5 separate regions of the Homo sapiens genome follow, and regions 1, 2, 3 and 5 are each linked to region 4. The links are contacts of gene promoters, found by promoter capture Hi-C in blood cells and fetal thymus (Javierre and others, 2016). All regions are on one chromosome and are shown on one strand. The core of a region is centred on a gene start or on the middle of the fragment in contact, and the rest is flanking DNA. Distances in the headings are between cores, read along the strand shown. Region 1 holds the start of LNP1 (leukemia NUP98 fusion partner 1). Region 2 holds the start of CMSS1 (cms1 ribosomal small subunit homolog). Region 3 holds the start of TMEM45A (transmembrane protein 45A). Region 4 holds the start of PCNP (PEST proteolytic signal containing nuclear protein). Region 5 holds the start of NIT2 (nitrilase family member 2).

Region 1 (4,878 bases), core at 1,869-4,368, 1.2 Mb after region 4:
AGATATATAGACAGTGATTATCTGCACAGAAATGGTACCTGAAGCAATGAGATTTACTTTGGTTACTAATGGAGAGATTGAAGATAAAGAAGAAGACATATTCTAATAAATTCCTCACTTGAGGAATATCTAGAGCTGTGCTGTCCAATATGGTAGTCATTAGCCACATGATACTACTTAAATCAATTAAATAATGAAAACTGTAGTCTTTGTCACACTACATTTCAAGTGCTCAATAGCCACATGTGGCTAGTGGCTACCATATTGGACATCATAAATATAAATCATTTCCAGCATCATAGAAAGCTGTGATGGACAGCACTGATCTAGAGTTTGGTCAGAGCGTAGAAGAACCAGAAGACTCTATTCTCCTGAAGCCAAGGAAAAGAACATTTCAAGGAGAGAATAATCAGTGGTATCAAGTAAAAGTGGGTGACAGCCAACCTCCCCCACCCACAAAAAAACCACAATGAATTTTATGACTTCTAAAGCACTTTCAGCCTAATTATAAAGTTGTAAACTAGATTACAACAGATTTTGGATGAAATGGGTGCCAAATAAGTAACAGATGTAGACAATTCTTTTCAGTAATTTTTCAGTAAGGAAAAACAGAATGAAAACATCAGACAGCTGAAAGAGAATAGAGCTGTTCTATATGTACATGCTTAATATAAGCAGATTTGTGCACTGGCTGGAAGGTTTGGACACCAGTCAACCAGCTATTTACCAACTCTAGCAATCTGAAAGGCCTTTCATGTAGCAATGACAATTGAAGGGACAGAATTACATCATTTTAAAACAATAAGGAGCCTTAAAAATAATCTAATCCACCCCTCCTCACATTATAAAGAAAGCAGAGTTGCCCATGGTCACACACACAACTCAGTGGTATTAAAATTTAGAATAAGAATTCAGGTCAGCTGGGCATGGTGGCTTATGCCTGTATTCCCAGCACTTTGGGAGGCCGAGGCAGGTAGATCACCTGAGGTCAGGAGTTCAAGACCAGCTTGGCCAATATACAAAAAATTAGCCTGGCATGGTAGCAGCCGCCTATAATCCCAGCTACTGGGACGCTGAGGGAGGAGAATTGCTTGAAGCCTGCAGGCAGAGGCTGCAGTGAGCCAAGATGGCGCCATTGCACTCCAGCCTGGGCAACAAGAGCGAAACTCCATCTCAAAAAAAAAAAAAACTCAGGTCTTCCACAACCTAGTCCATTAGACTATCTCATTTAACTGCCTCCTAAGATACAGATCAAAGGTGAAGAAAGCTTCTTCAGTTGAGTTCCACTAATCTACCAAGAAAAAGATAATGTCTATGTTCACATATACAGAACTTTAATTTTTTAGAAATGAAAGGCAGTATTTTACTTCTTTACTTTAAAATTTAGAAAAACTGAGAACTAATCATCAAATATCTATTGCTTTGTAACAAACATCAAAAGAACTTTAAATATTCTCTAATTAAATCTTTACTATAGCCTGAGAGGTAGATGTTTTCACCATTTCACAGATTAGAAAAACATGCATCAGATCAGTAAGGTCCCAAAGCCAGTAAGCGACACTCTATTTGGCTCTACAGTACCATCAATTAGGAAATGGAGGAGAAAATGAGAGAATAGCATAGGCTAGAGAATGGAAATGAGATGTTTATCAAAGTATAAAAGTAACCAGAACAGATTCGTTTACTAATGCCAACCTTAAAAATAAAGCCAAACAAAATCAGGCCTTTAGATAAATATTAATCCAAAAAATGTTTCAAGAAAATAACACCGATTCCCTTTGGAGAGGGGAACTGTGCAGCTGAGGACAGGGACTGAAGGAAGACTTTTCACAGTAAACTCTGTAACTTTTGGAGTTTAACCGTAACAGTGTATTGCTTACTCCAATAAATAAGAAAAAGGTTTAAAAAAAAAACTTCAAATATGTTTTAGTTCCTATCAAGTTTGTAATTGTTAGCACTCTACAATCCTCCAAGAGGCCACAGCAAAACTGAAATTTCAGAAAAAAAAAAAAATCCTAACTTGTGTTCTGAAAAAGGCAAGGCAGAGCTTATATTAAGGGGCAGAAAATTTGCCTTTGGGGATTGGGGGATCAGGAGGGGAGAAAAGCCTATTGCCTGCAACGATCAACTCAATTCCACTGCTATTTTTAGCCCATTTTTTTAGTCTGTTGCTAAGAAACCCTATTGCCTGAAGGCAATTTACTAATAGGAACTTACATGAAGCAGGAGAAACCGGTGATCCTGAAATTCTTTCCAATTAGGCCATTCTATTTTAATCAGTCCATTCTGGTGCCACTTGATAAAATATCTCCTTTCAATCTTTATGTAGCTCTACTGTGATGTTGTTGCACTTAACAGCAAAACAATCATTTATGAAATCTTAATGTAAGGCTTCTGCAAACCAGTATACCAGAAATGGAGAACCATAGTTCTGGACTCTGATTTTTCTATTAATAGTTGTCTTCATGAAAATACCGTGTATTCCAAACAATACCTTGCAAGGTAATTTTATATTTTAAGAGATCTGGTGCAGAGCATCGGAAAAAGAGTTGATAAAGCTATTATAGATAAAAAGCTGTGAACTGAAATTACGATTTGGGAATGAGACGAGAAGAGGGCTGAGACTGCTACTGCAAAACAACCCGGGGGGCGTGCGGATCAGAGCGAGATGTGGGCTGACGCAGAAATCAGCTCAAGATACAAATACGCCAAGAAAGGCTCGAAGCCGGCGGGAACCCTGACGCTTCGCATTTCTACCAACTCAGTTTAAGAAACCCCTAACAACGCAGATGTCATCGCTTCGTTAATTGGTGCCGACGATGAGCCACAGCGACCACGCTCAAACCGTTTCGACTGCAGCCAACCTAGATGTGCCATTTCCACCTAGTCTTCTGCCATCGCTATCTCCCCTATAACCTCAAATTCGTCCAAACTAAAATCTCGCTATGTTAGTGATAAGAAGTTCAGTGATGCAGCAGCCTTCTTCAGCGGTGAGCTCTTTCCTCACACATCTTTAAAAGTCCTTCTAATCCGTTGGTTTCTCGGGCACGCGGGCAGAAAACCGTGCTAACGGCCACAGAGGTTCAAGAGGTGCCAACGTGGCTATAACTGGAAAACTGGATCCGAAATCGACCAGTAAACTGGGTAGCTCGGTCTACGCCCCGCCCACCACCCTTGCTAGCCAATAGCCTTCACAACTCTTCTGCCACTCCCGCCCATTCCAGTGCTGTGCCGCTGCTTTTTCTTCCACTCGGATCTCTTGAGCGCCCTTAGCCCGCTGTATACGCGCCCCTCCTCGGCTTCAGTAGGCAAGAGGGCCATCTGCCCTTCTTTCCTGAAGGTAGAGGGGACAACACCAGCTACGACGGGGACTCCAGAAGTCCATCTCCCGAACAGCAGCGGGGCGAAAAGAAAGAAAAAGGGTTTCCGAAGACTCCTACTCACACCCACGCTTTCCCTTAACCCGGAAGTGATTTCCGCCCCTCCTCTCCCTCTTCGGTTGATACTGGAGGAGAAGGACGGCCAGGTCTGGCCCGGCATGCCCTGGGCTTCCGGTGACCTCTGGCCCTTTTCTGTCGTCCGCTCTCTCTGCCTAGCGTGCTCGCTCGCTCATTGCTTTCCTTCCCTCCCTCGGTCTTCCTTCGCACGCTGTTTGGTGATTGTGGCGCTCGCGACAGACAGGGAGGCGGTGGCAGAGGACACTTGTCATGGCCGCCTCTAAACCTGTGGAGGCAGCGGTGGTCGCAGCCGCTGTACCGAGCTCCGGGAGTGGGGTGGGCGGCGGCGGGACTGCGGGCCCGGGCACGGGGGGGCTGCCGCGATGGCAGCTGGCTCTGGCGGTCGGGGCACCCCTGCTGCTGGGCGCGGGTGCCATATACCTGTGGAGTCGGCAGCAACGGCGCCGGGAGGCCAGAGGCCGGGGCGACGCCAGCGGCCTGAAGCGCAACAGCGAACGGAAGACCCCGGAGGGCAGGGCCAGTCCGGCCCCGGGCAGCGGACACCCTGAAGGTCCCGGTGCTCACTTGGACATGGTGAGAAGCAGCCCCAGGCCGTAGAGGAGGAAACTGGCTCGTGCAGCTTTTCCTTGGCGGGTTGTGTCAGTGAGGGGGCTTCCCATCAGACGGAAGCTGCCAAGCGGCAGCACAACACTTGGGTTTAGGGAGACTCATTTCTGGCTGCCAGTGGAGGGCATAGAGTAGCTCGATGACAGGTTACTGGCATTCTTTGACAGTTTGCTTTTGGTTTCAGAAAAATCCTTTGCTTTTCTTCTCAGTGACACAGCATTTATCCCTAGTGTTGTAGATGGGAGTGGGGCATTTGCAAATGTGATGATTGTATTTAATAAGTGAAGGAAGCTAAATTCGATTAACAATTGGTACATCGTGATACGAACTGTTTCTGTGATTTCCAAAGCCTACAACCTAATCGCTAAGAGCCTTTTAATAATGAGCCACTCCCCCTTTTGGAGTGTGTTTTTGCTGGGGGTAAGTGGGCAACTACAGTGACGGTTAGTTGACAAAAGCAAAACAAAAACAAAAACGATTAGATGGCTTTCTACATAGAAAAAGAAAGACTACACAGGTTCTAAAGAGTGAAATGGTGTTCAGTGGCATTTGTTTTACAGCCTCTGAACTGTAAGCAGAACTGTCAAGCTCCCAAGGCTCGTCCTCTCTCAGCAACCCCGAAGCCCCCTTGGCTGCAAGCACTCAGCGCCCGTAACCTCTCCTGCCATGCCCCAGCCCCAAGGTGTCCTTTTGCACTCCGGACCCCTTGGCCTTTGTCAGAAAACGCTCTGCACTGCACTGTCCCCTCTTGCTGCACAAGAGTAGCGGCCACAGCAATGCTCACCAGGCTTGGTTGCACACAGCCCCCTGCCCC
Region 2 (4,794 bases), core at 1,096-3,595, 1.8 Mb after region 4:
AAAAAAGGGTTAGTCTTATGGCTAGAAGGAATGTAAGAAGTAGAGCAATCTTAGGCACTCCAACACACTGTCTTCATGAGAATTCTGGCAACTTAGATGAAGGAGGCTGTAGCGATTTAAAGTTTTACTAGATTCAGTGTTTAAAACTGTTGGGGGCCAGGCACGGTGGCTCACGCCTGTAATCCCAGCACTTTGGGAGGCCGAGGTGGGCAGATCACGAGGTCAAGAGATCAAGACCAGCCTGGCCAACATGGTGAAACCCCGTCTCTACTAAAAATACAAAAATTAGCTGGGTGTGGTGGCGGGCACCTGTAATCCCAGTTACTTGGGAGGCTGAGGCAGGAGAATCGCTTGAACCCAGGAGGCAGAGGTTGCAGTGAGCCGAGATCGTGCCACTGCACTCCAGCCTGGGCGACAGAGGGAGACTCCGTGTCAAAAAAAAAAAAAAAGAAAAAAAAAACTGTTGGTTGGTAAAACCCTAAAAAAGATGATCTTTAAGGGCTCTTTACAGATTATGATACAAAGGCCCAGAGAAGTCACAAAGTAGTAGCGGGAAAAGCGTGACTTTCAAAATCAATCACACTTGACTAAACTCTTCCCAGACCTCTTCTTCAATGTGTGTTCCTAAGAACACGACTTAACTTTTTTCTGTTTCTTCACCTATACAAATGAAGAGAATACTTACCTTTTCGGGATGTTATGAAAGTTAAATCAATTCATATTTATGAAGACATTTGTCACATAATAGATACTCAATACATGTTGACTGCCTTTCTTCCAACGGATGAATAACTTGAAAGTCACACAGCTAGTGAGGACTAGAACCAAGAATTGGGATCCCCTTCACCACTCAAACAGAATTCAACTATTTCTTAAATGGCCTCTGTTCATCTTCAATCATATCATAAAATAGAGCTTTTTAACACCTGAGTTGGGAGGGGTAGTTATTAAAGTAAATGTGGAACACCACAGGGCTGCAAAAGAGTCAGGAAGTTTAATCAAGGAAATGTTGTATTGGCTACCTTTCTAAAAATGACATCTGCTTAGTTTGTACCTGAAGGCTTGACCTTCCGGAAACAATGCAACAAATGAAGTTGGTTATTTTTAATGGATATTTCACAACTAGTATTTCAAGATTGTTTGCAGCAAATAGGTATCAAGTGTCTAACATGTGCAGGGCCCTGTGGATGACAGAAGTATGAATCTGACTTTGGCCCTGTCTTCTCTTGTAGAGAAAAGAGGCAGACCTTGAGGAGTGATAAAAACCAACCAACCAATAATTGCATGGTAGGTGTGATGGAACTTAAAAAGTTCAAGGCTAGCCTGACATGGGGGGTCACTTAACGCTACTCTACTTGGGGATGAAATGCCCACTGCATCAGGAGTTGGTAAACACAGCAGAGCATAGTAGAAACTATTCAAATTGTGTTAACTGAATTCTAGTATTGTTTCTGAAAGGAGCTAGCTTTGTGAACTTGTCAAGTTACTTGACATCTTTAGGTTATGTTTCTCATCTGTAAAATAAGTGAGTTCAAAGGATGATCTCTATTTAAGCCTCCTTCCAGTTCTACTATTCCAAATTCCATGATAATGATGATGACCACAAGAAATACAGTAACTTATATTTACCACACATTATATGTCAAGCACTATGCTAAAGTGCATTACTGTACTAACTTCACTTAATCTTCACAACTTTACGAAATGGACATTATTGTTATCATTATTTTACAGATGAGGAAAAGGAGGCTAAACAGTATCAGAATACTGGAGTCGTGATTTGAATGGAGGGAGTCTGAAGCAGCAACCCCTGCTTCTGACCTCAGTCTGAATTGAAAGCAGTTCATGGGTCACCCTTAACCATCATACAAAGTTGCCTCTCTTCACAAAAACTGTCTTATCCATTCTCAAGAAATAAGGAAAAGAGAAAGCTTGTGGAAAGGATCCTTCCTGGCTGGCAGACAGATCTGAGTTAATGTCACAGCTGTCTGTTTCACGTGTTAAAGAATCTCTTGCACCATTTTCCCCGAGATGCTTGCGCGCTCCCAAGGCGGTGCACACCCCTGCTGGGCAAACACCGCGATCGCCAGAAGCGACCAGGGCTGAGGCGCACGGAAGGGCTCCGGGAGAGGCCCCGTAGGAGCGCGGGCACAGAGTGGGTACCTGGGCTGCTGCCTGCTCCAGTCGGCTGGTTCTCCCACCACTCGTCTCCGAGATCGTCTGCCATTTCAGCTCAGGTCTCGACGTGGGCAGAACATCACGGGTAGGCGACCAGCTGCGGAGAATCACGTTGTCTCAAAGCCAGGCGGCCGGCGTAGCTACACGCGGAGCTCCCGCTAGACACTGTCGCCTCCGCCCCGCGGCGATGACGTCACACCTCTGCCCCGCCTCTCCGGCAGCCGCTCCCAGACTCGTCGCAGTTTCCACACAGGCGCCGACAGGCAGAAGCAGTTTGGAAACGCAACATAAATCCCCCCAAAGCTTAAAGACAAAAAGGAACATAAGACGAAAGGGATTGTCATCGTTTTTGATAATGCATTTTAAAAAATTTTGTTTACGTGTTACGTTTCCCGATAAGATTGTGTCGAAAGTGTGAGACACCATGTGAAGACGATTTTTCTCCGCTCAGTTTCAAAGAACTTGCGCAGCGGGAGAAGACCCAAACATGTGCGTGTGTTTTCGCTTGTGCGTCAGTGTTTCAGAGTTTATGTGTTTGTACAGTTTGCTCTTAGAAAACATGCGCAAGGATCCATGACCATGAATGTCGGGCCTTTGTGGTAAATGTAGTTCTGCTATTTATGCAATATGAGTAAAGAAAATGTAATTGGCCTGGAAAGGCTCGCCCACAGAAAGACGCAAGTGGCTCGAAGACCCGCAAGTTGTTTTCCTCATACTCCCTCGGTTGTGTGTCCCACCCCCTATTTGGGAAACGAAGTAATAAGGGAGTCCATTGCTTCGTAACTATAGGTAAGAGACCCGCAGTGCCTCTTGTCTCAGTCCCAACGTGATTTGGCAGGGAGGGACTAGGAAAACCCGCTGGGCGCCAAGTGCTGGGGCTAGCTGTGAAGTAATTGTGGACGGTATTTTTCAGGACATCAAACACAGACGTAAAAATTATACAAAATGTAGTAAAAGCACGCAACGTGCCTGGTACTATGCATGGAATAGTAAGATGAGTCCATTCAGATGTTAGCCTACAGTAGTGGAAATTCAATTTGTAGGAATAAAGGGCTAGACTTCTAATAGGATACATCCTCGGAAATGACAAGACAGGGAAACTTAATCTGATGAGGCTAGGATTAGCCATATGTGGAAAATTACCCCGTGTGCACCCAACTCATAGATGTTTTATAAATGCATTACTGCCTAGACTTTGTCCGCACACTCTAAATGCCCCAAAAGGGAAGATATTATGTATAAATATGGCAAATGTAAAATAATCTATAAAGATCAAAAGTAATATGGCTTTTGTGAAGAAATGTAGATGACGAGATTTTCGTGATTAATAGATTTTTGAAAAAGATAAGAAATGCCAGTGTGGAAGAGGAGTTGCTATGGCTAATAAACATGAAAAGAATTCAGTCTGATTATTAATCTGGGAAATACAAAAAAAACACCACAGCGAGACCGTTTTTCAGGCAATAAATCACAAAATTAAGAAGTATGGGCCGGGCGCGGTGGCTCAAGCCTGTAATCCCAACGCTTTGGGAGGCCGAGGTGGGTGAATCACCTGAGGTCAAGAATTCCAGACCAGCCTGGCCAAAATGGCGAAACCCATCTCTACTAAAAATACAAAAATTAGCCGGGCATGGTGGCAGGCGCCTGTAATTCCAGCTACTTGAGAGTCTGAGGTAGGCGAATTGCTTAAACCCGGGAAGTGGAGGTTGCGGTGAGCCGAGATGGTGCCATTACACTCCAGCCTGGTTGACAAAAGCGAAACTCGGTCTCAAAAAAAAAAAAAAAAAAAAAAAAAAGAAGTCTGGCAATACTAAATTATGGAGTGTCTATGCATTAATGGGAATTGATACCTGTTTTGTACCATGAACTATGAATGGTCTTACATTATATTCCACCTCGCCTCAGCCTCCCGAGTAGCTGGGACTACAGGCACATGCCACCATTCTTGGTTATTTTGTTGTTGTTTTTGTTTTTTGTAGATATGGCGTCTCATTTTGCTGCCCAGGCTGGTCTTTAACACCTGGCTTCAAGCAGTCCTCCCACTCCAGCCTGCCAAAGTGTTGGTATTAGAGGCCTAAGCCACTGTGTCCAGCCATTTTTTACATTTTTAAAGCATTGTAAGAAACAGAACAAAACAACAACGACAACAACAAAAACGTAAAGAAAAATATGCAGCAGAGACTGTAGCCCTCATATATTTACTATTTATTACTATTCCCTCATATATTTGCTCTAACTTTACAGAAAAAAGTTTACTGACCCCAGATTATATTGAATAGCCAACCTAAGTTGTAGCATCCATTTCTGTTCTGTTTGTTCTGTTATTAGTGAATTGGTTATTAGTGAATAGGCATCCTGGTTTATAAATCAGTGTATTGTAAAACCGTACTCTCCAGTATCTGATCATATCATCTAACACAGGGAAGCTCAGGCTGAAATAACTATTAGGTCTTTTTCTGCTCCCTCTTACTGTTCAGTATCTGAATGAGTATTATTAGAGTTTAAAGGAGGAAGCATTCATTTCCCAATGGGGCGAACTGGGAGGTAGCACTTGACAATGGATGTCTGTCGGCAAAAATGGATAGGGTAAATGATAGTTCCTTGGCAGAAAGATTG
Region 3 (4,741 bases), core at 10-2,509, 1.1 Mb after region 4:
CATCTGTAATCCCAGCTACTTGGGAGGCTGAGTCAGGAGAATCACTTGAACCCGGGAGGCAGAGGTTCCAGTAAGCCGAGATCGTGCCATTGCACTCCAGCCTTGGCGACAAGAGTGAGACTCTGTCTCAAAAACAAACAAACAAACTACAACAACAACAAAATATATAGCGTATATAGAGTATACTATATAGCATACATAGAGCATATACACCATATAGCATAGTGTATACATAGCATGTATATAGTATATATACCATACTATATAGTGCATATATACTATATAGTATATATATACAATTATAAGTTTATGAACACACAAGTGGTCTGTCACATGTTTGTTTGTTTTTAACAATTATAAAGGAATTCAGGTCTCCCACTATGGATAGGAGAATACCGAAAAGATATATATTTGGCTTGCAACTACCTCCAGATTTAAGTGAAAAATCCAGCAACTACCTGCATAACCCAGGTTTTACGTAATTTATATTAGACATCCTATTAACAGAAGCAAACGTGTTAATTCTGAAAAGATCAGATAATTTTCTCAATCTCCCATCAAAACAGTCCCAGAGTTGGGGATAAAAAACGATTTTGGCTTTACAAATACCCACAGTATTTTCACAGAAAGAAAATAGAGAAATAAATTTATCAATAGATTCAATTTTGGAGTTAGAGGTTTACAACAGAATATCAGTCACATTGCTGCTCCCAGGATATTTAAAACTAGCTCACCAAAAAAAAAAAAAAAAAAAAAAGAATAGCAAACCAAAAAAATTAAATTAAAATGTTAGTGAAACGGAAGAGAAGGGAGCGAAGGGTCCAGTTTGTCGCAGCAAGTGTTACTTTTCTCCCCTTGATGAAGAGAAAGCTGGTGAGAACAGTAAAAAGACACAGGATAGAGATCACGGCAAGAGAAATATGATATCCAGCACGTATCCAAAACTTACCCAACTTGGTCTGTTTACTCAACACTTTATTTTTCCCACTTTGCCAGCTTAAAATCAGACAGCGGCTGGGCTTTTGTTGTTGCTGTTTCTGTTCTTTTGATCCCAGAGCCCCATGAAAATTAAACCGTGTGTTGGATGGGATCTGGCCACGTCTCGCATTGGGTGGGGGGAGGAATTTTTAAACTTGGGTCCCTAGTCGCTTCTTTGGGAAAACGAATAAATAATAAGTGGCGAGAAGGAGAGGACGTGGGGGACGTGCTCGGCTGACGTCGGCCCGCGAGGAGGCCGCACAGCTGTCCAGATGTGCTTCATCTGTTCCCCCCGCGGGGCACGGGCCTCGGCGGCCGCGGCTGGCACAAGCCCCAGCTCATTGGTGGCCGCAGCTCTTCACTTGCTGCCGATTGGCCGGGCGGCCCGCCACTCCGGAGGGCCTCGGGCCCGCCCCTCTCTCAGGCCCGCTGGCTGCATCCTAAGGGAATGTGGAAGTGCAGCGCCGTCGCTGATGTGGCACTCGGCGGCTGCGCGGCCGGGACGGCTCGGGGCAGAGAGGGAGGTTGCCTACTCCCAGGTCTTGCCCCTGCCCCGGCCCTGTTATGCCCCTCCTTTTAGACAGACCGCTTTGTTTAAACAGGATGATTTGTAGCCGTTTGGAGGCTGAAAATAAGGCGGATGATTTGTAGCCGTTTGGGGGCTGAAAATAAGACGCGCCTGGTGCTTGGAGTGGAAGAGGCTGGGGCTCCGGGCTGCCCACGCCCCCAAAGGGCGTTCAGGCCACGCCTTGGGATTCCTCTCTCTTCACTTTCTCCAGGGAGCAAATAATAGGGCCCAAGAGCCTGCTCCCTGGGGACGGTATTCTTTCTTTCGGTGGAGGGAAAACCTTAATGAACCCTTCGTTGAAGTCCTTATTAACCAGAATTGAAGTTGTTCCTGCGGAGATGACCAGGACTGGGTATGAGAGTGGTTTGGCAGACCTGCTTGGTTTTTTGTATTGAGTGATGGTCGTTGTAGGGAACCGAGAAATACTGCTTTGTTGTGTGAGAATTGAGAAAGGACTGCGCCAAACGTTGCTTTGAACTTGGGAAAGCAGTTGGAGGGTTAACCAGTTTTTTGATTAGTGAGTTAGAAGGAGAGGAGGAAAGAAGAGATCTGCAAATCAATTGCCATTATAATTTGTGCATATTGACAGAACCGTTCCCTCATTGAAATATTAAGTGGGCAAGAGCCACACTCACTGGGCTGCACGCCAGGGAAGGCACCAGACCCCGCATTAAACAGTTTTTACCTGCATTATCACATTTAATTCTTACAACTACCTTATAAAATAGATATTAAAATAATCTCCAAGACCCAGCACCTATCCCAGCCTACCACAGATGTCTCCAAACATATGTTTGCAGCACTCCATCATAGATACATAAACTCATCTGCAATTTGCCATCCCTGCAGGGGTCAGAATTTATTATGAGTGTCCAAAGCTTTCACTACAATGATAATGTCTTGTTTGTTGGTGTATTTGTCATCTATTGCTGCGCAACAGATTCCCACAAACTTAGTGCTTTGTACAACACATGTATATCACTGCACAGTTTCTGAAGGTTGGAAGTCCAGGCATGGCCAAACTAGATCCTCTGCTTATGCTCTCACAAGGGTGCAATCAAGGTGTCAGCCGGGCTGCATTGTCATCTGCAGGCTCTACTGGAGAAGAATCATTTCCAAGCTTTCTCAGGTCATTGACAGAATTCATTTCTTTGCAGCTCTAGGACTGACTCCCCAGTTTCTTTCTAGATGTGAGCTAGAGGCTGCCCTTAGCTCCGAAAGACTGCTCTTAGGCTCCCAATGGCCATCCACGGTTCTGAAAAGCCAGAGAATAGAGATCACAGGGGCCACCTACAAGTCTGTCTGCCACAATTGGATAGTCAGACACCTCAATTTCAATGGACCTGACTGCAATGTTATCATAACTCTGTAAGACCCCCACAAATGCAGGAGCCTGCTCAGCAAGTAAAGTGGCACTACATGAGTGCAACCACAACACTCCAATCCTTCTGGCAGTCAAGGAAACCCACAAAGGAGCAACATTTGAATGTAGCCCTTGAAAGTAATGTGTCATGTGTTCAGCTTTCTGAATCATTTGTAATCTCACAATGCTGCACTTTTTATCACAGAAGCCGCTCAACAGTGGGCTGATAGTCAAGGTATTGATTAACCCTCCACACTCATTACCATCAACAGGCATCTGATATTGACCAAAAATCACTAAAAAAAAAAAAAAAAAAAAAAAAAAAGAATCCTTCTGCTCTCAGGAAGATGGAGTGGACATCAGTATTCCATTTCTCCTGCTAAGCACAACAAAAAATCCTGGACTTCATATATTTTCCAACATTGGAAACTCCAAGAGGTTGAGAGAAGAAGACAGATGAGCTAGAAATCTCAGAACCCAAGGAATGACATGATGCTGAGTTCCCTGGGCTTGCTTTCTGTTGTTTCTTTGCCCCAAACTTGGAGCTGAAGAAGCCAGCAACCCAAAAATGACAACAGGCACAGACAAAAAAGTCTCAACGAACCCTGCTCTCTCTAGTCAAGGACCAGGAAATGGGAAGCCTAGAAAGACAGAAAAACTTTTAGGCAGTAATGGCTCTACTTCAGCCAAACACCACAGGAAAAACCCTGGCCCCACTCACTCCTACATGAACAGAGGCTGAGTAGAAATCCTAGACTCCCGCCTTTTCCAGGCTGTAACAAGGTGAAGATGCAGAAATCTTTAACAACGTATTACCAAACAGAATTCAGCAATATATAAAAATAATTATACACCACAACATAGTGGAGTTTTTTTCAGGGATGCAAAATCAAAATTCTAAAGTCAATCAACCCAGGCGTGGTGCCTCATGCCTGTAATCCCAGCACTTTGGGAGACCAAGTCCAGCGAATCCTTTGAGCCCAGAAGTTTGAGACCAGCCTGGGCAACAGGACACAACCCCATCTCTACACAAAATATGAAAATTAGCCCAGCATGGTGTCACACACCTGTAGTCTCAGGTACAGGTGGGACTGAGGTGGGAGGATCACCTGAGCCTGGGGGGTTGAGACTGCAGTTGCCACTGCACTCTAGATGGGGCAACAGAGTGAAACTCTGTCTCAAAAAAAAAAAAAAAAACAAATGTCGATCAATGCAATTCCTGATATGAACAAGCTAAAGAAAAGAAAAATCGCATGAATATATCAATCAATGTAGAACAAGCACTTGACAAAATTCAGCACCATAAAAACGCTCAGAAAAAGAAGAATAGAAGGGAATTTCCACACTTGATAAAGAACACCTACCAAAGTACCTACAGCTGACCTTATACTGAATGTGAAAGACTGGATGCTTTCCATACATACTTTGTAATTCTATTTGTGCAACATCCTTCAAGTTACAAAATTATACAAATAAAGAGCAGATAAGTGGTTGCCAGGTATTAAGGAGATGGTGGAGTAGGAGGCAAGTAGGCTTGGCTATGAAAGAACAACATGAGGGATCTTTGTGGTGATGGAAATTTTTATTAATAGCTTGACTGTATCCATGGGATATTGTTGAGATATTGAGATAATGTAATTCTGCAGAATGTTACCATTGGGGGAAACTGGGTGATGAGTACACAGGCTTTCTCTGTATTATTTCTTACAACTTGCATGTGCATCTACAATTAGCTCGAAAGAAAAAGTTTAAAAAAATACTTCTGACTCTATCTCCCTCACCTCCTCCTGACCACCACAATTTAGTTTGGTCACTGGATGTAACTCTCTCCA
Region 4 (5,062 bases), core at 845-3,344:
ACAGAGCTCCATCTCAAAAAAAAAAAAAAGGAAACCATTCATAAAAAAAAAAAACTTATACTTCCAACTTAGTAGACTGCTCGACAGGAATTAAAATTCAGAATATTCTCTAGTTAAGCCCCTAAGACAAACTTGACAGTGTTTTCAAAAAAGTGACTATCTGCCACAAAATTACCAATTTTGCAATATCCATGGTATGACATATTTTAACTATGATTCCTATGCACAATTTCATTAAAAATATCTGACATTCAAAAATGGCTTAAACTTAACAGCACTACTTTCTTGTAACGGCAAGGAGACAAATTATGTAGAAGTTAAGGGATATTTACTTACTCTAAGTTACCAAGAAAAAGACCATAATAATTTTTCTGATACCAATTAGCAAAGTAATTCTCTACTACTTCTCCCCACATGCTAAAATGGAAACATCAATATTCATACTATAGAACTAATAACCCTCAACTGAAAGAATGGCAGGTAAATTATACAGTGGATTTATAATGACACTCAAGGTACATTTTGACAGCACATTAAACACGTCTGCTACCCTCGGTCAAGACAGTTAACGAGATGGCCTTAAAATCAACACATGATTCTTTAGGCTTTTCCTCAAACTACGTCTAAAATTTTTTGCTTTTCCTCAAACTACTTTTAAACTTTTATGTAATTTTATCCCACAATTTCCAATACAATTTTTTTGGGAAAAAAAATTCCCTAGTGAGAAAGTAGTAGATGGTTTAAATTTAAATTGTTCTTTCATAAGGTATTTTACTAGTTATAAAAAAAAAAAAAGACAGGGGGTGGGGAGGGAAGAGAGAGATGGAGTTCCAGCTTAACTAACAGAATTGTACGTGTTTTTTAAAAAGGAAATCCTGGGTCCAAAGTAATTAACATTACACTTAATCTTTTCAATAATTTTTGTTCCCAAGGCAATTAACATGAAACATTATGTTAGTAGGTCTACTAGTGGCCTTCATATGCTATTAATCGTTTCTATTTTCTCATATTAAATAATTTCGGGAATGATAACTAAGGTGGTCAGAATAGAGAATAATGTTTAAAATGTTCTAAAAACATTTTAAACAGCTCGCACGTGTTAAGTCACTTGTCTTGTTATGTGCAAAGAGGGAGCTGGAGAGATTACGTTTCTTTTCCTTCACGCACAAGACCCGAATTTAGGGAGTGGAATGGACAGAATAAGGATAGCTGTAACCTGAGTTTAACGTCGTAACAAAATACAGGAAGAGTCACGCTAGACTATTTAGTCGCCTAAGTATCTGGCAAGCGGTCAGCTGGCAACAGCCTAAGGGAGATACTTCAAAGAAAAGCAACCAAACCTTAGCCCTAGACCCCGCAGCTTAAACCAGAGGGCAGGCAAAGGCATTCCTCTTCCCCTCCATCACCTCGGCCCATCCTGTCACAGGGTCAATATTAAACTTGGAAGTAAAGGAAAGAGAGCAGGCCGGAGTTGTCCACCTCCTCAGTGAAAAGGGAGCAGCAAGCGTAATTAACTCCTGCGTGTAACTGAGAGGCCGGCACCGTCAGAAACTCAGCCTGCGGCCAGTTCCCGCGGCAACTACTCGGTGGCTCGCACTGTGTGTATGTTATGTCTCATGAGCGTCTCCGGTGTGTGTGTTTTGTGTGATGTGCGTCTCCGGTGTGGCGGTAGCGGCTCCTGCACCGCCGCTCCTGGTCCCACCCCGAGTTCGGTCTCCCTTTCTGGCGCCCATCTCCCTTCTCCTCGGAATCAGGGCCTCCGCTGGGGCCAGGAGGTGACGAACAGTGGCCGGCTCTCCCCAGGCAAGGAGGCGATGTAGGCCCGGAGCCCAGAGGGCCGCATCGGGCGTGCCCGAGGCAGGTCTGGGCCCAACACCTGGCCGGGTGAGGTCCAGATCCGCCCATTCTCGCCCCACCCCACTCCCCCCACCCTGGGAGCTCAAAGAAAGGCCCGGAGCATCCCACGCTGCCCACGACGCTGGGGTTGTGTTCACCTCCGGCGGCTCCAGCTCGCTGCGACTTTTCAGGCTTCTCGTCTCCCGCCTTCCCGTCCGCCATTTTCCCCGCCGCGGCCTCCCCTGCAGCCACGCCAAGGACGTCACGACCCCGCCCAACAACCATCGAGTTTTTGGGGCCAGCCGGCGTGGTGGCAGCCTAGAGCGGTCCCGAGGAATGAAAAGAGGCCGCCTTCGGAAGCGGAAGTGGATGTGATGTCATCGAGTAGCCGCCTCGGAAGGAAGAGCTGGGAAGGTTGGGCGGTCTAAGAGTGCTGGCTAGGCACTTTATTAGAGGGCAGTCAGGTCTTCATGGTCTAGCGACAGGTCCGGAGAAGTGAGGGGAAATGGAGCATCTCCCTGGAAACGCTGGGATCTTAGAAGGTTTCTGCATACCCAGATGTGGTTGCAGCTGAGGCTGAGAGTGTCTTCCGTTCCGGCCTTGCTGGATAACGCATGCCTGCCAACTCTATGTAAACAAAAAGCCTGCATTCTTTTTCCCTAAAGGGGAAATCAGTGTTTATCTAGCGCCCCCTAGCTTCAGACGCCTTTCATACACTCGTTTAATCACGGCGATTGTCCAAATATAGAATTCTCCTCTCAATTACCTGTAAGAGTTGAGGTCAGAGAGAGTAATTTGTCTAAGTCACGTAGCCAACTGTAAAGTTACTTTTTGTATAGTCTGCTTCTACCAAGTTGAGAAACTACTATGTCAAGTTAAGACTGCAGTAATTTCTGCCTTAATAAGAAACCTTTAGTGGATTCCTACAGTCTGCATTCTGAAGTCCGTGAGTTACATTAGGCCCTAGCCTACCTTTTCGGCTTCATCTTCCCCCTTTCTCAGTATTTATCCAGCCCTCCTAGCCAAATGGGGTCTATTACTTGCTTAGGGAACTGGAGTTTCTGGGTTTGTCTTACCATATATAGTTAGAGAAAGTCTTAGGAGTCAGAACTTGGATTTGAATCTGTTTTGCCCTTTCCTGCTTGAGTAACCTTGAGACTTGCTTACTGCCTACAGAGCTACCTTTTCTTCTCTATAAAAGAGCAATAATAATAGTACCTCCTCAAAGAGTGGTAATAGGGATCAAATGAGATCATCTTTGTATACCATTATTTGGTCACTTCATACTTCCCTCAGTTTGTGTGTGTGTGTGTGTGTGTGTGTGTTTTAAGTGTTGTCTCTCTGAATGGCTCAAAAGTTCCTTGACAACAGAGACCAGTTTTTAAAAACTGTGTACTGTGCGTTTCATATATGAATATAAAAAGTGTTCAATATTTGCGGATGGATTACTTCTCGGGCTTCAAGTCCAGGGAGTGGAGAAAGAATGAAGAAATTATCAAAGTGTGTTTCCCATGACAGAAGCAGGGCAGTGTGGTGGTGATTTTGTGATCTAGGTTGAAGTCCCTGATCCATCATTTATCATATATGTAAAAGTAACCAGCAAACTATCTTACAGGTACTTAATTCATGTTTGTTTCATTTTCCTTGTGATCTTTTCAAGGTAATCATTGAGACTCTCGTTTCTATCATTTTAAAAATGGAGATATACACGAAGATTTTTATTTGAGATTATGTATTTACAGATGCTTGTAATTTTTTATGGGGGGTGGAATGGAGTCTCTCATTCTGTCACCCAGGCTGGAGTGCAATGGCATGGTCTTGGCTCACTGCAACCTCCGCCTCCTGGGTTCAAGCGATTCTCCTGCCTCAGCCTCTCGAGTAGCTGGGACAACAGGCGCGTGCCACCACACCCGGCTAATGTTTGTATTTTTAGTAGAGACGGGGTTTCACTATGTTGGCCAGGCTGGTCTCGAACTCCTGACTTTGTGATCCGCCCACCTTAGCCTCCCTAAGTGCTGGGATTACAGGCGTGAGCCACCGTGCCCGGCCGATGCTTGTAATTTTTAAGTGAAGAAGATAAAGCTCAGAGAAGTCACATACCTATTTAGGAGCGGATCCAGTTCCCATATACCACACTGCAGAAGTTAAGGATGCATGTGCAGGACTAGGTATGAAAGGAAAAAAACGAAACAAAAAAAGGATGAAGATAGTAATCCATTCACCTTTCAGTTCTGTGAGTTTCATGAGGTGTGCCTGTCTTGTTCACCACTGTTTCCCCAGCACCTGGATTATACTAGTCTGGATAAATATCTATTGAAGAAATTAATGCAAGCTTCAGTAACCTCCTACAAACGGGTTAGGAAATGGAAAGGTAGTGTAGTATGAAGGGGTGGAAAGGGGGTGATCACTTTCCTCCCCATCAAAAGAGTCATGACAACATGCTTGTTAATAAAAGACAGGTTAACAAGAGAAAATTAATGTGCATAAGCATGGGAATGATACAACAAAATAAGAAAACTAAAAAAAGGGTCAGATGGTTGAAGTTTAATACTTTTCATAGGGGAGAGAGAGGTGGGGGGGCTACAGGCAATTTTAGAGGAGTAGTAAATGATTTTAGGAGAGATTAATGCAGAAATTCACTTGTAAATTATTCTCTTTGTAAACCAAGTGAAACTAGAGAACCAATAATAATTCGAAGGCCAGTCGTGGTGACTCACTCCCATAATCCCAGCTACTAGGGAGGCTGAGATAGAAGGATCACTTGAGCCCCGGAGGCAAGGTTGCAGTGAGCCAAGATCTCGCCACTGCACTCCAACCTGGGTGACAGAGTGAGACCCTGTCTCAAAAACAAAAAACAGTAGTTTGAGGCAAAGTTTGGGCTCTAAGTGTGGTGGTTAATTTTCAGTCTCTTCCTCTATGATGTGAGTTTTGTTTTTTTATGAGACCAGGTCGCACTGTGTTGCCCAGGCTGGAGTGTGGTGGCTATTCACAGGCATGATGATAGCACACTACAGCCTCAAACTCCTGGCCTCAAGAATCCTCCCATCTGAGACTCACAGGTAGCTGGGACTACATGTGTGCACCACTGTATCTGGCTTTGTGATATGTTTTAATTTCTTCTGGTTAATGAAATTTCAGGGAGGAAGCAGATAGAAAGCAATTGTGTTCTTTGATGTGTGTGGTTTCTAGGTAGATAAGAAACTTCAAAGAACAGTCTTATCCCGTG
Region 5 (4,991 bases), core at 1-2,500, 1.2 Mb after region 4:
GGCAAACAGATATTTTGAGCTGTTATCAGAACAGCAGATAAATCCACTAAACGTCTCCCCTCCATTTCCCAGCGTTAAGCCATTCTCCCTCCTCAGCTTCCCAAGTAGTTTGGGACTAAAGGGGCGTGCCACCACACCGGGCTAATTTTGTATTTTTTAGTACAGACAAGGTGTCGCCATGTTGCCCAGGCTGGTCTCCAACTCTTGACTCGTGAACTCAAGCGATCCTCGTGCCTCAGCTTCCCAAACTGTTGGGATTACAGGCGTGAGCCACGTGCCGGGCCATGTCTGTGCTTCCGAGGGTGGGAAAGATAAAGCTCACCATGGCTACGCTGATGGCTTCCTCTCCTACACATCTCACCCACAAGGGCGGGGTCCTCAACTAAGCTTAGGACTGCCTATCATTCTGCAAATGACCCACTCTACAGACATGCTGCAGCAGGGAAACCCCGCCACTGGGCAGTTCCTCATGCTGAGGAGGAGACGCCCGTCACTCCATCTCATCTGTAAAGTGAAGACTTTTAAGGCTGCCCTAATATTCATCATAATCTAACAACGAAGACCTTACCAAGGGGCGGAAAAAAAGAATAAAATACTGTGAGCGAAGGAAACAACAAAGGAATAACATTTAAAGCAATGTGCCAGGTCCTTCACACATTAACATCATTGTGTGAGGTATCATTAACATCATTTTACAAATAAAGAAACAGGGGACTTGCAGGGGGAAAGCTGCACAAAGTCACTGAACAAAGTAAGTGACACAGCAAGAATCCAAGTCAAAATCTGGAGCTGGAAAGTGAGTGGGGAGACGAAGAACCGCCTGGGCACCTTTGTGCAGGGCGGGGCTGGAGGAGGTCACGCAACTTGAAAACACCCAAGGGAGTTGGATCCTACCACCGCGGCCCACACCGTGGAGAAATACACGTCCATCAGCCTCTGTCAAGCAGGACGCGGCGGGTGCCGGCGCGGCCGGGTGGCCTGGTGCTTTCTGGGCCTCGCCCGCCACCCCGGAAGCCTGGAATCCCGGGAGTGCGCCCGGCCGCCCGGCCACGCGATCCCGGACCCACGCGGACGCCCGCCTCAGGGAAGGCCGCGCACGGCGGGGACGCGGGGCGGAGGGGCTGAGCCGGCCGAGCCACCGCCGGCGCCGCTCCAAAGCCTCCCCCGCGGCCCGAACTCGAGCTGCAGCGCGCGGCCGCGCCACTTACAGGTCATGACTCTGCAGACAAGCACCACCTGCGGCGCGGACTGAGCGCTGGAGATCCGGCGGACCGCGGCGTCGCTACGGTGGGGCGGGGACCGCGTCAGAGGCCCCGCCCCACCCCTCCTCCTGGCCCCGGCCGGGAGGAGAGAAGGGTCTGCGTTCATTCCAGTGCGCCTGTAACACCAGGACGGACCAACGAGAAATGGTTAATTGCAACACAGTCCGGAAAAAGCATGCCTCGAAAGGCAAAGGGCAAAAGGGAACGGCCTAAGTCGAGGTGGTGTGCTGGTGAATGTCTTAACAACCAGACTTTTCAGGGAGGAAAGCCCTGATTTGTAGCGTTTGCTGATTCTCCGCAAAAGGACTGAACTTCTAGCTGGTTGAATCACCTCTGTGGCCAGGTTAACACCGTATGCTGATGGGCTTGAGCTATTTGAACAAGTCTCTGTGACGGGGACGGAATGACCCTGGTTGGTTTAGGCACGCGAGACGTCTGTAAAATCTGACTACAAGGCTGCTAGGCCAACGGGAAAGATGCTGAGGGTTCAACGCCATGCCCTCAACAAGTCAGTCCTCGAATACATTGTCATCTCTTTGCTAATATCCTTTTTTGTTTGTTTGTTTTAGACAGGGTCTCACTCTGTCATCCAGTCAGGAGTGCAGTGCAGCAGTCTCAGCCCATTGCAGCCTCAACCTCCCGGCTCAAGCGATCCTCCGTCCTCAGCCTCCCAAGTAGCTGGGACTACAGGCACACACCACCACACCTAGCTATTTCTTTTCCTTTTTTCTTTTTCTTTCTTTCTTTCTTTTTTTTTTTTTTTTAAGTTTTTTACTTTTAATAGAGGTGGGGCCTTGCTATTTTGCCCAGGCTGGTCTCAAACTCCTGAGCTCAAGACCCTACTGCCTTAGCCTCCCAAAGTGCTGGAATTATAGGCGTGAGCTGCTGCGCCCAGCCTATAGACTATGATTTTTGCATTTTTATTTATTAGATTGCTTTTTAATTTTCGTGTTTTGTGTTTTTGTGCCTTGTCAGACTTGTGGAACAAAAATCCAAAACTTAACCACCTTTTGGAATGCCCCAGAATAGTTTATACTGAAACAGATCTTGGTTTGTAAAAGAACACTATAAAAACATTTTGGGGGCAACTAGGGAGATTTAAATATGAACGAGATATTTGATGCTTTTCTGAATTATTTTGTGTGCTATAGTGTTGTGCTTGTGACAATTCTTTACTCTTAGAAAATGAGGAAGTATTAGGGATGAACCATCAGAATGTTTGACTTGAAAATCGTCAGCAAAAAGAAAACACATAAGATAAAGCAAATATGGCAAAATGTTAATTATTAAATCTAGGAGGAGGACACAGCTGTTCATGGTACTAGATTAAAACTTTGTAGAAGTTTAAAATTTTAAGCTTTCATAAAAAAAAATTGGGGGGAAATACATAGCAGTTATGGTCTTTCTGCAGCTTAAGAGACTATCTGGACTTGGCTTTGTAGCAGGAAGATCTTTAAAAACCTTTTCATTTCTGCTATGCTTATTAACCTATGAGGTTTCAGGGTCAACCTGTGGTCACTTACAACCTGTTAAAAAAATTCATCTAGATTTCCAAATTTATTGGACTAACATTGTAACTAATAGTGGTCCTAAACCTGGCTGGAAATGTTATTTGAAGTGCTTGTTCAAAATGCAAATTATTTCATTTTTTTAGAAGTGGATTCTTACAGTGTTGCCCAGGCTGGTCTCAAACTCCTAGGCTCAAGTGATCCTCCCACTTTGGCTTCAAAAAGTGCTGGCCTTATAGGCATGAGCCATGGCATCCAGGTGGAGATGCCCAGTAGGCAACCGGACCAAAGCCTCAAGCTCAGAAGATGTCTGGGCTGGAAATTGACTTGGGAGTCACCAGCAGTTTTAACTAAGAGGAAGCTCTGAATTTGGATGAGAACACACAAGCGGAGTATGAAAGGCACACGCAAAAGAAGAAGGGCCTGTGGAGCCTGGGAAGGAGCCATTAGAGGAGAAGGACCAGGCCGGGCGCCACTGCCTGGTGGAGGAACAGCTGTGTCCTCCTCCTAGATTTAATAATTAACATAATCCCAGCACTTCAGGAGGTGGAGGCAGGTGGATCAAGAGGTCAGGAGCTCGAGACCAGCCTGACCAGCATGGTGAAACCCCGTCTCTACTAAAAATGCAAAAATTAGCTGGGCGTGGTGGCACACACCTGTAATCCCAGCTACTCAGGAGGCTGAGACAGCAGAATCACTTGAACCTGGGAGGCGAATGTTGCGGTGAGCCGAGATTGTGCCACTGCACACCAGCCTGGGTGACAGAGCCAGACTCCATTAAAAAAAAAAAGAGAGAGAGAGAAGCAGGACCAGGAGAAGGCCATCAAGACCAAAAGCCTATGGGTACTGTGTCCCTCTGTCACATGCAGGGAAACTGCTGACTTGGGCACTAGGGGTGTTCCTAGAAAAGGAAAAGCTAAATGAAAGTGCGCTTTTTAAACCTTTCTTTAGAACTTTCTGGGCACAATGGAAAAGCTAGTCACTGGGTTCTGGTTCTGGCTCTGACACTGATTAGATGTTAATACCTAGGGCAAATCACCTCACCCTCAGGACCTTTTCCTCACCTGTATGTGAAAGGATTTAGAGGCAAAGGAAGAAGAATCTGGCTGAAGGGTGAAGTTTGTGCAGCCCTCCCCACCACCACTCCCCTCACTGTCCCTTCTCTGCAGCAGCTCTGCCTTCGTTTCCATGTTCCTGTTCATCTGACGTATGAAAATAGGCCAAAAAACAAAACTACCAGGCCAAATGGATCTTGAAAGCCCAGCTAAAAATCTGGTGTGCCTTTTCAGTCTCTATTCTCATTTCTACCCATGTCTCACAGGCTTAATGACCATTTCCAGGCTGTTACTAGTCAGATTTTTATTTTTACTCCAGAGGACCTATTTCAACATCTCCGGCTGCCGCCATCTCTATTTACATGTCTCAACATCAGTTCCAACTCAACTATGTGAAACTAAATGTATCACCTCCAAAAGAGCTTCTCCACCCAGCACTTACAGGCACCACAATTTATGCCCAGTTTTCTAATTCTCCCTGCTTTCCAGCCCTCCAAGAAAACCTAAGTCACTTCAGTGACTTTCGAGTCTTTCATTCCCCACCTCTGGTAAGGGACAGGGCTCTTCTTACTCTCAGGAAATGTCCCTGATTCCTCCTTTCAGTTCCCACCACCACCGTCCACAGGTAGGCCTTCCTCACCTTGGGGAGACTGCTACAGGCACTTCCTAACTGGTCTCTCCTTTCCATCAGCATTCCTCCAGCTGCCGCTTCATAGTATGAGGTGAGTCTAGGGGAACGTGAGCTCAGTTTTTGGGGGAGAGGTGGATATGTGTTCCAGGAAAACTCTCCGTGTTTTTCCTCTGCTCTTACATCACCACCACAACAATCATCATCACAGAAGAATTCTGGGACCAAATGTGAGGGGGTTCCTCCCTACCACCAAGCAGCGGACACCAGCTGGGTATCCTCCTATTCAATTCCAACACTGTCTACCTGAGGAAGACACACCGGCACCAGTCATATGTCTTGGACTCCAGAACTTCTGACCAACCACTTTCAAGTTGGGGTTGCCATGATCCCATCTTTGGGTTTGAATAACTTGCTGGAGCAGCTCACAGAACTCATGGAAACATGTTTCCTGGTTTATTATAAAGGATGTTGCAAAGGCTACAAGGAAGAGATGTGTAGGGCAAAGTATGGGAGGAGGGGCACAAAGCTTCCATGC

What was found. Contacts are between HindIII fragments. The CHiCAGO score rates a contact against its expected background, and 5 or more counts as called.
Region 1: the fragment with the promoter of LNP1 here is called in contact with the fragment with the promoter of PCNP in region 4 in 14 of 17 cell types (total B cells, total CD4 T cells, fetal thymus and 11 more); the score reaches 15.3 in total B cells.
Region 2: a contact is called between the fragment with the promoter of CMSS1 here and the fragment with the promoter of PCNP in region 4, in 2 of 17 cell types (fetal thymus and total B cells). The highest score is 13.8, in fetal thymus.
Region 3: a contact is called between the fragment with the promoter of TMEM45A here and the fragment with the promoter of PCNP in region 4, in 1 of 17 cell types (monocytes). The highest score is 5.0, in monocytes.
Region 5: the fragment with the promoter of NIT2 here is called in contact with the fragment with the promoter of PCNP in region 4 in 7 of 17 cell types (fetal thymus, total B cells, total CD8 T cells and 4 more); the score reaches 9.8 in fetal thymus.

The regions. Positions count from the first base shown.
Region 1 is chr3:100,399,779-100,404,656 of GRCh38, reverse strand. LNP1 (leukemia NUP98 fusion partner 1) reads right to left here and starts at 3,118. Exons shown (of 4, transcript NM_001085451.2): 1 at 2,218-3,118. It overlaps TOMM70 (translocase of outer mitochondrial membrane 70), which reads left to right and starts at 3,568. Exons shown (of 12, transcript NM_014820.5): 1 at 3,568-4,031. The coding sequence starts at 3,708. RefSeq lists silencers at 3,100-3,179, 3,790-3,869 and enhancers at 3,240-3,329, 3,340-3,389, 3,440-3,549, 4,231-4,878. The HindIII fragment of the contact is 4,606 bases long and covers 1,270-4,878 here.
Region 2 is chr3:99,815,413-99,820,206 of GRCh38, reverse strand. It overlaps CMSS1 (cms1 ribosomal small subunit homolog), which reads right to left and starts at 2,345. Exons shown (of 10, transcript NM_032359.4): 1 at 2,164-2,345. The coding sequence starts at 2,227. It overlaps HP09053 (a long non-coding RNA gene), which reads left to right. Exons shown (of 3, transcript NR_110821.1): 2 at 1,233-1,287; 3 at 1,735-3,575. It overlaps LOC105374010 (a long non-coding RNA gene), which reads right to left and starts at 2,345. Exons shown (of 5, transcript NR_189163.1): 1 at 2,164-2,345. RefSeq lists enhancers at 2,079-2,388, 1,620-2,494 and a silencer at 1,910-2,664. The HindIII fragment of the contact is 550 bases long and covers 1,934-2,483 here.
Region 3 is chr3:100,489,137-100,493,877 of GRCh38, reverse strand. TMEM45A (transmembrane protein 45A) reads right to left here and starts at 1,259. Exons shown (of 6, transcript NM_018004.3): 1 at 950-1,259. RefSeq lists a silencer at 1,242-1,541. The HindIII fragment of the contact is 5,818 bases long and covers 1-2,426 here.
Region 4 is chr3:101,571,212-101,576,273 of GRCh38, reverse strand. PCNP (PEST proteolytic signal containing nuclear protein) reads right to left here and starts at 2,094. Exons shown (of 5, transcript NM_020357.3): 1 at 1,995-2,094. The coding sequence starts at 2,058. RefSeq lists enhancers at 1,575-1,734, 1,755-1,914, 1,995-2,124, 2,225-2,494, 1,938-2,883. The HindIII fragment of the contact is 5,212 bases long and covers 1-4,170 here.
Region 5 is chr3:100,331,016-100,336,006 of GRCh38, reverse strand. It overlaps NIT2 (nitrilase family member 2), which reads right to left and starts at 1,250. Exons shown (of 10, transcript NM_020202.5): 1 at 1,209-1,250. The coding sequence starts at 1,215. RefSeq lists silencers at 228-522, 921-1,250 and enhancers at 491-570, 691-750, 771-820, 914-1,482. The HindIII fragment of the contact is 2,232 bases long and covers 390-2,621 here.